2 separate regions of the Homo sapiens genome follow, and region 1 is linked to region 2. The links are contacts of gene promoters, found by promoter capture Hi-C in blood cells and fetal thymus (Javierre and others, 2016). All regions are on one chromosome and are shown on one strand. Each heading gives the region's core, a stretch centred on a gene start or on the middle of the fragment in contact. The rest is flanking DNA. Distances are from core to core; before and after follow the strand shown. Region 1 has its middle 7.1 kb from the start of VEGFA. Region 2 holds the start of TMEM151B (transmembrane protein 151B).

Region 1 (5,196 bases), core at 1,167-3,666, 510 kb after region 2:
TCTGGAAGGGCTTCCTGCAGGAGGTGGCTTGGGACATGTATTCCACAAGCAATTATTAAACTCAGCTTGTGATCTCTGCTTTGTGTTGCACCCTGGGACTACAACAGTGTCAGTGGGGGCTTCCTGTCTGGAGGTAAACCAAAGAGTAAACCAAAAATGGGAATTCTCTGAGGAGCATTTAATTGCTGGGAGTAGGGGAAGGCTTCCTGGAGATGATACTTGAGTTGGGTCTTTTTTTTTTTTTTTTTTTTTTGAGATAGGGTCTCACTCTGTCGCCCAGACTGGAGTGCAGTGGCGCCATGTCGGCTCACTGCAACCCCTGCCTCCCAGGTTCGAGCAATTCTCCTGCCTCAGCCTCCGGAGTAGCTGGGACTGCAGGTGCCTGCCACCACACCTGGCTAATTTTTGTGTTTTTAGTAGAGATGGTGTTTCACCATGTTGCCCAGGCTGGTCTCGAACTCCTGACCTCAAGTGATCGGCCCACCTCTGCCTCCCAGAGTGCTGGGATTACAGGCGTGAGCCACCGTGCCTGGCCTTGAGTTGGGTCTTGATGGAAGAGCAGGAGTTTAGCAAACCAAGTGGACTGCGCAAAGAGAACAAGCAAGGGAAGATACCCTGGAAGGTTCTGATGGCTCACACTGAGCCCTCCCAGTACTCCTCTGAGTGATAGAGACTTTGAGGCTAGGCAGGGCAAGGGATTAGGGCGTCTTCAGAAACATTCCCAGCCAAAGCCCACAGAGACAATGCTGCTCCCTCAGGGGGTGAGCTCCACACTGCCTTCCCCGCCCCCCGGGACAGTTTGTCTCTGTCAGAGAATTTAAACAAGCCAACACTAGTGGTAGGTCCAGCTCACACATGGAACACCACTGTTGCTTGCCCCAGGAGTGAGGGGAGGAGAGCAGAGGACACCAGCCTGTGACGAGCACAGGGCCACTCAGCTGGGCCAAGGCATAAAGCAGAAAGATACATTTCCTCCAGCTTTAATCCCTCACTTCATTACCTGGTACCCAGAGCCCTCCTGTCTACCTGTCACAGGCATGTGGCGACTTCGAAACAGCACTGGGCAAAAAAGTCCTGAGTCTGGCTGGGTGTGGTGGCTCACGTCTGTAATCTCAGCACTTTGGGAGGCCGAGATGGGCAGATCACCTGAGGTCAGGAGTTCAAGATCAGCCTGGCCAACATGGTGAAACCCTGTCTCTACTAAAAATACAAAAGTTAGCCAGGCGTGGTTGTGCATGCCTATAGTACCAACTACTTGGGAGGCTGAGGCAGGAGAATCACTTAAACCCAGGAGGCAAGTAAGCCAAGATGGCACCACTGCACTCCAGCCTGGGCGACAAAGCGAGACTCCGTCTAAAAAAAAAAAAAAATTTCCAGAGTCTGTTGCATGCTGTGTGACCTTGGCCGAGTCAGCTCCCCTTGCTGGACCTCAGGCTTCTCCTGGGTAAAGCATGAGGTTCCACTCCCTAAGCTCTGAGGCTCTGTGAGCCTGTAACATCTCCCTCAAACACTCCAGATGAGATGACTGATACCAAATGTCACATCTTCCAGGGCCTGTGTGTTTTAAAAGCCTCTTGGAGAGGGCAGTGCTTAACTCAAAGAAATCTAGCACTAGTGGTGAAATCTGGGGCTCAGCACCAAGTGATGGAAGGGAGAAGCAGTTCTTATGAACCCCTCAAATCCCAGCAGGTAGGGAACCGCTTCCTCTGTTACCTGAGATGCCAGACCTCTGTCCTTTCAGGAAAGACACCAGCTTGATGAACCCTCACTGTGAAAAGCCTCAGCCACCCACCCACTCCCCTTTCTCCACCCCACCACCCCCATAGCGAGTAATGGAAAAAGCCAGACAGGCTGGGTTTGATCTTGGTTCAACACTTCCAAGCTTTGAGACTTGGACAATTCACTTATCTTGTCTGAGCCTCAGTTTCCTCATCTGTAAAATGAGGTTCATGGTTCTTACCTCCCAGGGTTGTAGGGAAATATATGGAAACAGCAAACATCAGCTAAGCTCCTTGCCCAGAGTAGGTATCATATAAATGTTTTTCCCTTCCCTGTCTCCTGTTCCCACCCCCATTCGTGAGCAAACTCTTAGAGAATGCAAACCCACTATCATCTGGCTAAAGTAAAACAGAAACAAATAGGGAAATGGGTTTACCCCACCCCTGGTTAAAAAAAAAGAAAAGCAAGAAATTACATAATGCGTGCCAAAGATGACTAGGGGTTGGGGGATCTGTTGGCTTGGATCCTGCTTTAGTCTTTATTTGAAGCAACTATGTAACTAGGTTGTCACTGAGTTGACTGCAATGTGAGTTCCTTCGGGGAAGTCCCAGGAAAAAAAAGAGGCAGGGACCCAAGGCGCCCCCTACCTCCCAGCAAGAAGGGCCCCTTCCCCCAGCAGCCCCCTGGGCCTGGGCTGGAAGCTGGGGCGATGACCTGGGCCCCCCAGGATGGTTCACAAAGATAAAGCCAGTTAATGATTGGCCCCCTGATTGGCCCCCTGAGAGCTGAGCTAAGCTCCAATTTGTGAATATTTGTAGGGACTACCAGGCACCAGGCTCTATGCTGATTTTACAGGAGGTACAGGGACATCTAGGTAGGGCAGTGGAAAGTACAGGGACTTTGGATTCAAAGTCCCACCATACTCCCTGCTTTCCCAGACCCAGAAGTACAGGGCATGAGGAGTGGGGAGGCCTCCCCTCAGCTTCCAGGATCAGCCTGGCCCAATAGCCTCGAGATATTCAGGGAAGCAGGCAATTAGTCAGAGGATATCCATGTCAGGAGAACATCAGACTGTGCTCCTAGGAGTCTTGAGGGTCCTCAGAGATGGGACAGGTAGCAGGAAGGTGTGGGAGTGGGCAAACACAGTACATGCAGTTTTATCTGCTTCATTTATTGGCCCCTCACTTGGAATTTCATTTGAGGAAAAGTTTCCACTGCTAAAGAAGCTTACTGGCCAGAGGAGCAGAAGGAAGCCCAGAGTTGTCCAAAGCCGGAGCGCTGCATAGAGTCAAGACCTCAACCCAGATCACTCAACTCACAGCCTGGGGCTCTTTCTACCTCCCCAGGCCACTTCATCATTTAATCGGGGCCCAGCACTGAGCCAGGCACCTTTGGGATACACTGGGCTTCTGCCTCTAAGAGCTGACTGGCTGGGTGGGGAGCCAGGCAGTGCCAGAGAGGAGGTGCTAGAACTAGATGCCGCGTGCATAGGAGTGTGTCAGCAGCTGACCCAGGGATCTGTTGTTTGCTCCTCCTTCCCTAGAGGGGCTCAGCACTCCCTTACTCCAGGCAGTGCCCTGCAGAGGCCACAGCTAAACCATTCCCTACTGGGGTCTCCTGGAGAGATGGTCCCGCCTACATCTCCCTGCATGCCAGCCTGCTTATCCAGACCCATCTCCTTCCAGAACACAGCTGGAAGCATCAGGAGAAGTGAGGCAGGGCATGCTCAGAGCTGCTGTGCCTGCTGCCAGCTTCTCCAAGTTCCAGGACCTGGTCGCAGTCAGCTCCAGCTGTGGGGCACAAGGCCCCTGCGGAGCTCAGGATGATGGCCAAAACATTTAACACCTGCTATGGCTCAGGCACAGTTCACATAGAGCTGACGGCGTATGCCAAGCCAGACATAAACCTCAATTTCTGGATGGTGGAGAGGTCCAGGGGACCAAGTAAGGGACTGGGGTGGCCAGAGAGGCACAGGGGGAACTCAAGGACTGGAACAACAGCTATTTACCAATCAATCAGGAGGCGTGCTGGGGTACACCAGGTGAATGTCTGCCCTGCCCCAGTCCGCTCTTGACTCTAGGCTGGAATGTGCAGCTCCCTGCTGAGAATGAGGCCTGTCTGGGTCCCTGGTCTGCACGCCTCCCTACCTCCTCCTCTCTTGGAAAGGCCAGGCCAGGACTCCCCACTAATCTTCATGCATAAGTGTAGCCCACACCCAACATAGCAGGTACCTCACCAGGCCTTCAATTCCAGAGGCCAGGCCTGAGGCGGTGGACTCATGGGACCTAGACACTGTTGAAAACATGGTAGACAAGGCAAGCCCCAGCTCTGGGGTGGAATTCCAACCCCAAGTGTCCAGATCATGGACAGTTATGGGTGAACAGAGCATTTCCTTTTCCCTTCCTTCTCTGTCTTTCCTCAGATGTCTCCATCCCTCCTTGCCTCCTTCTTTCTTGCTCCTTTCTGCCTAGCCCCATTGTCCCGGGGCCCTCCTGGGTCAGTCCCATTGACTAAGTGCTCCTCTGTGAGCTTAGCTACTCTGTCCTCAGCTTTCTGGAGCCCCCTGGGAAGGTGACTGCTCCCCACTTCCCATTCACTGTCGGGGAGCAAGCCTGGGCAGTGGGGAACAAGCTAGGAGGAAAGATGCTCTTCACATCCCCTCAGTTCCTTCTAGCCCTCCAAGAACTAGGAAGAACCTGCAAAAAGGGCATTTCTGTGGCTATGGGACATACTCCTGCCTGTCGGGATGCCAGGAGAGTTGGTACAGCAACTCCAGAGAGAGCAACAAATACAGTGCGGAGCACCAAGCCCCCTCCATAAGACCCTGGCATGACCAGAGGTCTTAAGGAGGACAGAGGGAGGCACGGTGAATCTGCCCTTCACCAACTCTGACCGTAGCCCTGCGGTGGCATCTCCTCCCCCACTGCATTTCCCTCCCGTCACTCATCCACCAACCCCCTGCCTCTCCATGCCTCCTCAGCTTTCCAGGCTGAAGGCTGCAGGGACTACTAAACCACACATACACACACACAAACAAACCCCGTCTACCACCACCACCCACGACAGGGCCCCATAGAGAAGAGAGAAGTGTTTCCAGAAACCCAGCTGTTCCAGGCAAGCTGACCTGGGTCACAGTGGCCTCCCCACCAAGGCTACAGAGAGACTAGGCATCGGCTGAGCACCCCCTCCCAACACCACCACAGGAGTTACCTTGAAAGCCCCTCTGACAAATAGTGTCCCTGAAGCCCTGTCATTAAGCACTCTGCTCCCCGAGCAGTTCCTCAGATTGCCATGTGTGGGTCCTGGAGGTTAGGACACCTGGGTTCAAACGCAGCCACTGTCACTGCCTTGTTGTGTGGCCTGGAGCAAGGCACCGCCCATCCCTGCCTCAGTGTCCTCCTTTCCAGACTGAAGGGGCTGGACTGATTGCTAAAACCCCGTTAGGGCTCCCCCTCTATTGCTGTAGGGAACGGGAAG
Region 2 (5,665 bases), core at 3,122-5,621:
ACTAAGCCCTGCTTCCTCTAGGGGTCAGGCCCTGGCCATGAACTGCCCCTCTGGCCTGCCTGATCCATTTGCCACTGCCTCTGTTTTCCAAAGTGCCCCCACATCACCACAAACAGCCTCCTCTTCTTCTTTCTTCCCTTTTACAATTGTGTTTCCCAATGGGTTCCCCAGAAGCACTCCCTAAAGAACCCCTCTATCTCTAGTCTGCCTGTTCACGCTGTAGCTATCATCAGCCTCCTTCCTGCTTCTCACCCGCCCCAGGCTTCTGTCTATTGATCCTTATACTGAGACAGATGGCCTGCATCTGGGAACGTCTCCTCCAGGACCCCAATATGTCTCATCCTGGCGAGTCCACAAAGTGCTGATTGACCTGCCCACCCTCAGTGAGACTTCCTACGCCCACCTCCTCTTAGACCCTTGAACTTGACATCCAGGAAGCTGGGATTGAGCCTAGCACTACCACTTAAGAGCAGCAGACTTTGGACAAGTCACTGAGTTTAGGTGTCCATACCTGTGAAAGAACTCAGTAGCAGTCACCTCACTGAACAGGTAAGAGCATGCTATGATACTGGGCATGTGAAGCCATCTCCAGCCATTAAGCACTATTTTTATTTTTATTTTTTTTTTTGAGATGGGGTCTTGCACTGTGGCAATCACAGCTCACTACAGCCTCAACTGCCCAGGCTCAAGCGATTCTCCCACCTCAGTTTCCTGAGTAGCCGGGACTACAGGTGCATACCACCACACCAGCTACTTCTTTTTATTATTTATAGAGATGGGGTCTTACTATGTTGCTGCCGGGTGGGCTGGTCTCAAACTCCTGGCTCAAGAGATCCTTCTGCCTCACCAAAGTGCTGAGGTTACAGGCCTGAGCCACCACACTCTGCCATTAATCACTAAGTAGATCCATTAAGCACTAAACAGTATAGAGATCCTGGAGCCAGATTGATTGAGTTCAAGTCTCATCTCCACCACATACTGCCTATTTGACCTTAGACACATTACTTAAACTCTCCAGGCCTCAGTTTCCTCATCTGCAAAATGGGAATACCTGCCTACATCATAGGGTTGTTATGAGGGTTAAATAAATGATTTGATGTGTGTAAAATACTTAGAGCAGAGCCTGGCTCCTGGTCGGTTTTTGCTGTTATGATTATGGTTGTTGCTATTGCCCTGCTGTTGCAATGCTCATGGGAGCTCACTGCTGCCTTTTGCTCCTCCCACCTTCCCCCCAGGGAGGTGGGGAGGGAGTGAGGCAGCACGTAAGTGCCACCTCCCATGTTGAATGTCCTGCACTCCCCACCAGCTCCTCACCTGGGTGGTGGTATAGGCGTCTCCATTGCGGTATCTGGTGACCTGGCGGGTGCGGCGGACATAGTGGTAGCTGATGGCCTTCCACCAGATGCAGGGCGTGGCTTGCTGCATGCGGCCCACACGTTCCCGCACACTGCTCACATCAACACGGTGCTGCAGCTCATGGCGGGCTTGGCAGTGCCAACACTCCACCAGGTAGACGGCGTACAACATGAGCAGGAAGGCCAGGGGGATGTAGACATAGCCGTTGGAGCAGGGGCTGTCATGGTACATGAGGCTGTTGCCCTGGTAGGCGCTGCTGAAGGTGAGGCGCGTCACTGTGGTGACGTGGCACCAGGCCACTGCCCCCAGGCAGCCGTACATGAGCAGCGAGAGCAGGAGGCACTTCCAGTGGGACTCACGGCAGAGGGACTTGGTGAAAGAGGGCTGGATGGGACGCTGCTGCTCAGGTGGGCAGGGAGAGGGGCCAAGATGAGTGGGAAGTGAGAGCAGGCAGGACCCAGCACAGAGATGGATACGGGGATGGAGGGGCAGAGGCCAGCACCAGAGATAACAGGCAGAGAGAAACAGGGATATGGAGAGAAAAGGTGAGACCAAGATGGGAGCCAGGGGCCAGAGGTAGAAACAGAAGTGACACAGAGCAAGCCAGAGGACAGGAAAGGGGACCGGAATGCCAGTACAGGAGAGTGCAGAGAGAGACACCCCAAGAGGCAGAGAAGGATCAGAGCCAGAGATAGAGGCCCAGGCAGCAAACACAGATGGATAGGATGGTACCCAGAGAGCATCCGAAGACAAACACAAAAATGGCAATGAAACAGAAGATGTGGACAGGGAAGACAGGGGAGGACAGACAGACAGGCATCAGCGAAGGAAGGTCCCCAGCCCAGACCCCTTCCAGGTCCTCTAGAAAAGGGGGAGGGACCCACTGACATCACTTCCCCACTTAACAAGTGGGGCCCTCACTTCCAGATTTTTTTCAGTCCTAGGTTCTAGAGGAGCTACTCCCCTCTGACCCATCCACCTCCCTAACCCTCACAATTAGCCTAACACGTCCTTTGGATAAGGGCCTCCAGAGAACCCCAGGCCCAGTCTCATTCCCCATGTTCTGGACCCTGGTTCCCCTGTGAGTCTCCCTCCTGCACCCTGACATCCTTCCCTTTGTCCTAGGATGGGAGGGAGGGGGCTGGGGTCCCTGAGCGGCAGGCAGTCCAGGAGGAGGTATCCAGAAGGGCAGAGGCATGTGGCTGAGGAGAGGACAGGCATAGGGGATGTGGGACTGGGGTAGCGAGGACAACGTTTGAAGCCCAGCAATTTATCAAGAGAAAATTATTTTTGGTACTCTCCTGGAGCCTGTCTGTTAAAGCTCCTGGCACATTCTGTCCCAGGGTTGGCCCAGGAGTTGTTTACATGTCTGGCTCCCCACTACACTGGGTACTCCTGAGGGCCCATGCTTCATTCTCTTTGCATCCTAGGTGCCTACCATGGTGCTGGCCCCCAGCAGCCACATCCTAATTGAGTGTTGAGTTTAATTTCTTGTAGTGGCCTCTGTTTTCCCACCCCTCCTCTGTGCTGTCTAGCTTTAGGAACCCATCCCCCACCACACACACACACACACACACACACACAACCTCCTGCTGGGATCCTGACTTACCCCCTCAATTCCTCAGGCCTGACCTAGAGGCCAGCCAGGAAAGAGAGGAAAAGAGTGGAAAAGAAGGGTACAGTAATAGGCATCGGTCCCTGGATCTAGAAGTATGGATAGTTAGGCGAGCTAGGAAATAGCACACAGTACATGTGGACAAGGAGATTAGGGTACATGTGCCTTTCGGGGAGCCTTGTCCTTAGGAGGTATGAACATACGGGCCCCTTCGTGTGCCTACCTGGTTATGTGCTTGTCCCCATGTGGGTACCTCTGAAAGGGGCTTTACCTGCAGGCCCATCCCCGCTTGTGTGCCTCTGCCCTAGTACAGGGTGCATGCGTGTGCACAAGTGTGCATGGGAGGCTGGAGTGGGGGTGCTCCTGGTACTTTCCTCCGTCTCTTTGTCTTCAGGTTCAGAGGACTGAGTACTAGGGACCCCAACTAGGGATATGAGGAAGCAGCAGGAGCCTCGTGAGAGAGAGGTGCACACCCCCCCCCACACACACACACACACACTCCCAATGACCACAGGCGGGACCCCCCGTACACATCTGACCTCCTTAGGGTCCCAGATCAGGTACCACCACCACTTCCCCATGGTACCCTCCTCGTTCTGTAGCCCGTACAAGCCGCCCTTCCTGGCCTTCAAGGTAGCATCCTCCTCTGTGAGACAGGATCCCCGCCACCGTCCCCACCCCGGTAGAGCATAGCCCCCACTCTCATAAGCCCAGGATCCGCGAGGCTCCGCCCCTAGGCCCCTCCCCCTGCCCGGGACCCCTGAGCCCCGCCCCCGGCGCGGCCCCTTCCCCGGCACCGCGGACAGCTCCGGCCGCCGGGTGGGGGCGGCGGCGCGGACTGCGGCTGCAGCGGCCGGCTCGGGGTGCGGGGCGCCGGCCGCGCTGCGGCGGAACCAGCGGGGGACGCGTGCGATGGGGGATGGGGGGCCAGGCTGCGGCCGCGCCCGGGGAAGGGGCGCCCTAGACTCTCACCTCCTCTCGGGCGGGGCCCTCGTCCGCCGCCGCCGCTGCCGCCGCCGCCGTGAGCTCCTCCGAGACCCCGGGGCCGCCACCGCCGCCGCCGCCGCCGGCGGCGCTCTCTCCCGCGGCCGAGCCAGGGGGGGACATGGCGTAGAGGGGGCGCGTCGAGCTCAGGACCTCCCGGGGGGCTGCCAGGGGCCGGGGGCATCCTGCGCGGGCCCTGGGGAGAGGACGGGAGGGGGCGGGGCCCTCGCTGCTCCCCACCCCCCGCCGGGGGAGGGGGCCCGGAAAGGGCACCGGGAGTAAGGGGCTGGGGGCTGAGGGTGGGAGGCAGGCTGGGGGGCCGGGCCGGGGGGGGCCGGGGCCGGGGGCGGGTGTCACCTTGAGGCCCTCGCGGCGCCGCTCCGCCTCCCGCCCGCTCCCGCCGCCGCCTTTTGTCTGAGCCGAGCTGGAGCCAGCGCGCCCCCCCTTTCCTGCCAGCGCAGCCGAGCCCCGCCCCCAGCCCCCCAAACTCCGCCTTCCCAAGCCTACCTAATAACCACCCCCCGAAGGGGTAAAGCAACAGGGACTCCCCACACCTCTTCCCCGCTCCCAGCCCTGCTCACTGCACCTCCCTCCCGCGCTCCTATCCTGGGAGAATCTGTGCCGCAACCCCTCTCCATCTGTTCTCCGTGGACTCGGTGCCCGAGGTTCAACCAACAGCACCCCCCCACACACACACACATCTCTGGTTCCCCCAAGTTCCCAGGGCAGAGGAGTGGGGAGAGGAAATTGATTCTTGGAACCCTAGGGAAGATCCTTACTCCCAGTTTCGTGGTGAAGGGTTAAGGCAGAAGCTAGACTTCCAGAGGAATGGAATAGGGGGAAAGGGAAGAGATTGAAGCTAGATGTGGGAAAGGACTAACAGAGGGCAGAGGGGAGGGCATTGGAACCGGCCTTCACTGAACCATCTTTCTTCCCTAAAAGAACAGCTCCAGAGAAGCAGTGAAGTGTGTGCAATACCCTAGGCTGGAGGGCAGGAAACCTGAGTTCTAATTCTGAATTCTGTATCTGTCATTAAGGAGTTATGTGACCTTGGGCAAGTGCCTTCCTGTCTCTGAGCCTTAATTTCTTCATCTGTGCAGTGAGGAAGTTGACTGGACAATTTCTAAGGCTCTGACTTGTAGGTGTAGGAAGCAAGCCAGGCTGAGCCACTGCAGGCAGCCTATCCTTTCAGGCCATCCACCCCACACTGCTTTTCCCTGTATCCCCTGGCACAGCAGGAAGGACCCTGACATTTATTCATTCATTCATTTCTGGATGTCTCCATTCAGTAAACAGGTGTTGGGTACCTATTGTGTGCCCAGTACAGAAATGAAACACAGTTTCCTTCCTGCAAGGAGCACAAAGTCTAATGGGGAGAAAAGAACATGAAAAACAACCATTATGAAGAATATAATAAAAGCCATGCATGATCAATCTTGTGCATACACAGTCACTGTGGAATCCTACTATGTGTCATTAGAGTCTTTGACATACAGTAACTGTTCTCCCCAATTACTCACAGGGAACCAAGGCAGAGGGAGAGTGAATGGCTTACTCAAGGTCACCTGCTAGCACTCACAGAGCTAGTCCTAGAATTCAGATCTTTCCCACTCAAAATCTATGGGGAATATTTGTGGGTAGGAAGTTAGTTTGGGGCAAAGCCTCGATGTCTGATTTTGGGGGATAGGGTACAAACACACTGATCTGCCC

The links. Contacts are between HindIII fragments. The CHiCAGO score rates a contact against its expected background, and 5 or more counts as called.
Region 1: a contact is called between a fragment that was not itself captured here and the fragment with the promoter of TMEM151B in region 2, in 1 of 17 cell types (naive B cells). The highest score is 5.1, in naive B cells.

What each region holds. Positions count from the first base shown.
Region 1 is chr6:43,760,536-43,765,731 of GRCh38, reverse strand. No RefSeq gene overlaps it. Among named protein-coding and RNA genes, the nearest start is that of VEGFA, 7.1 kb to the left of the region's middle. RefSeq lists enhancers at 459-960, 4,446-4,946, 4,947-5,196. The HindIII fragment of the contact is 1,063 bases long and covers 1,885-2,947 here.
Region 2 is chr6:44,269,156-44,274,820 of GRCh38, reverse strand. TMEM151B (transmembrane protein 151B) reads right to left here and starts at 4,371. Exons shown (of 3, transcript NM_001137560.2): 1 at 3,944-4,371; 2 at 1,315-1,755. The coding sequence starts at 4,078. The HindIII fragment of the contact is 13,529 bases long and covers 1-5,665 here.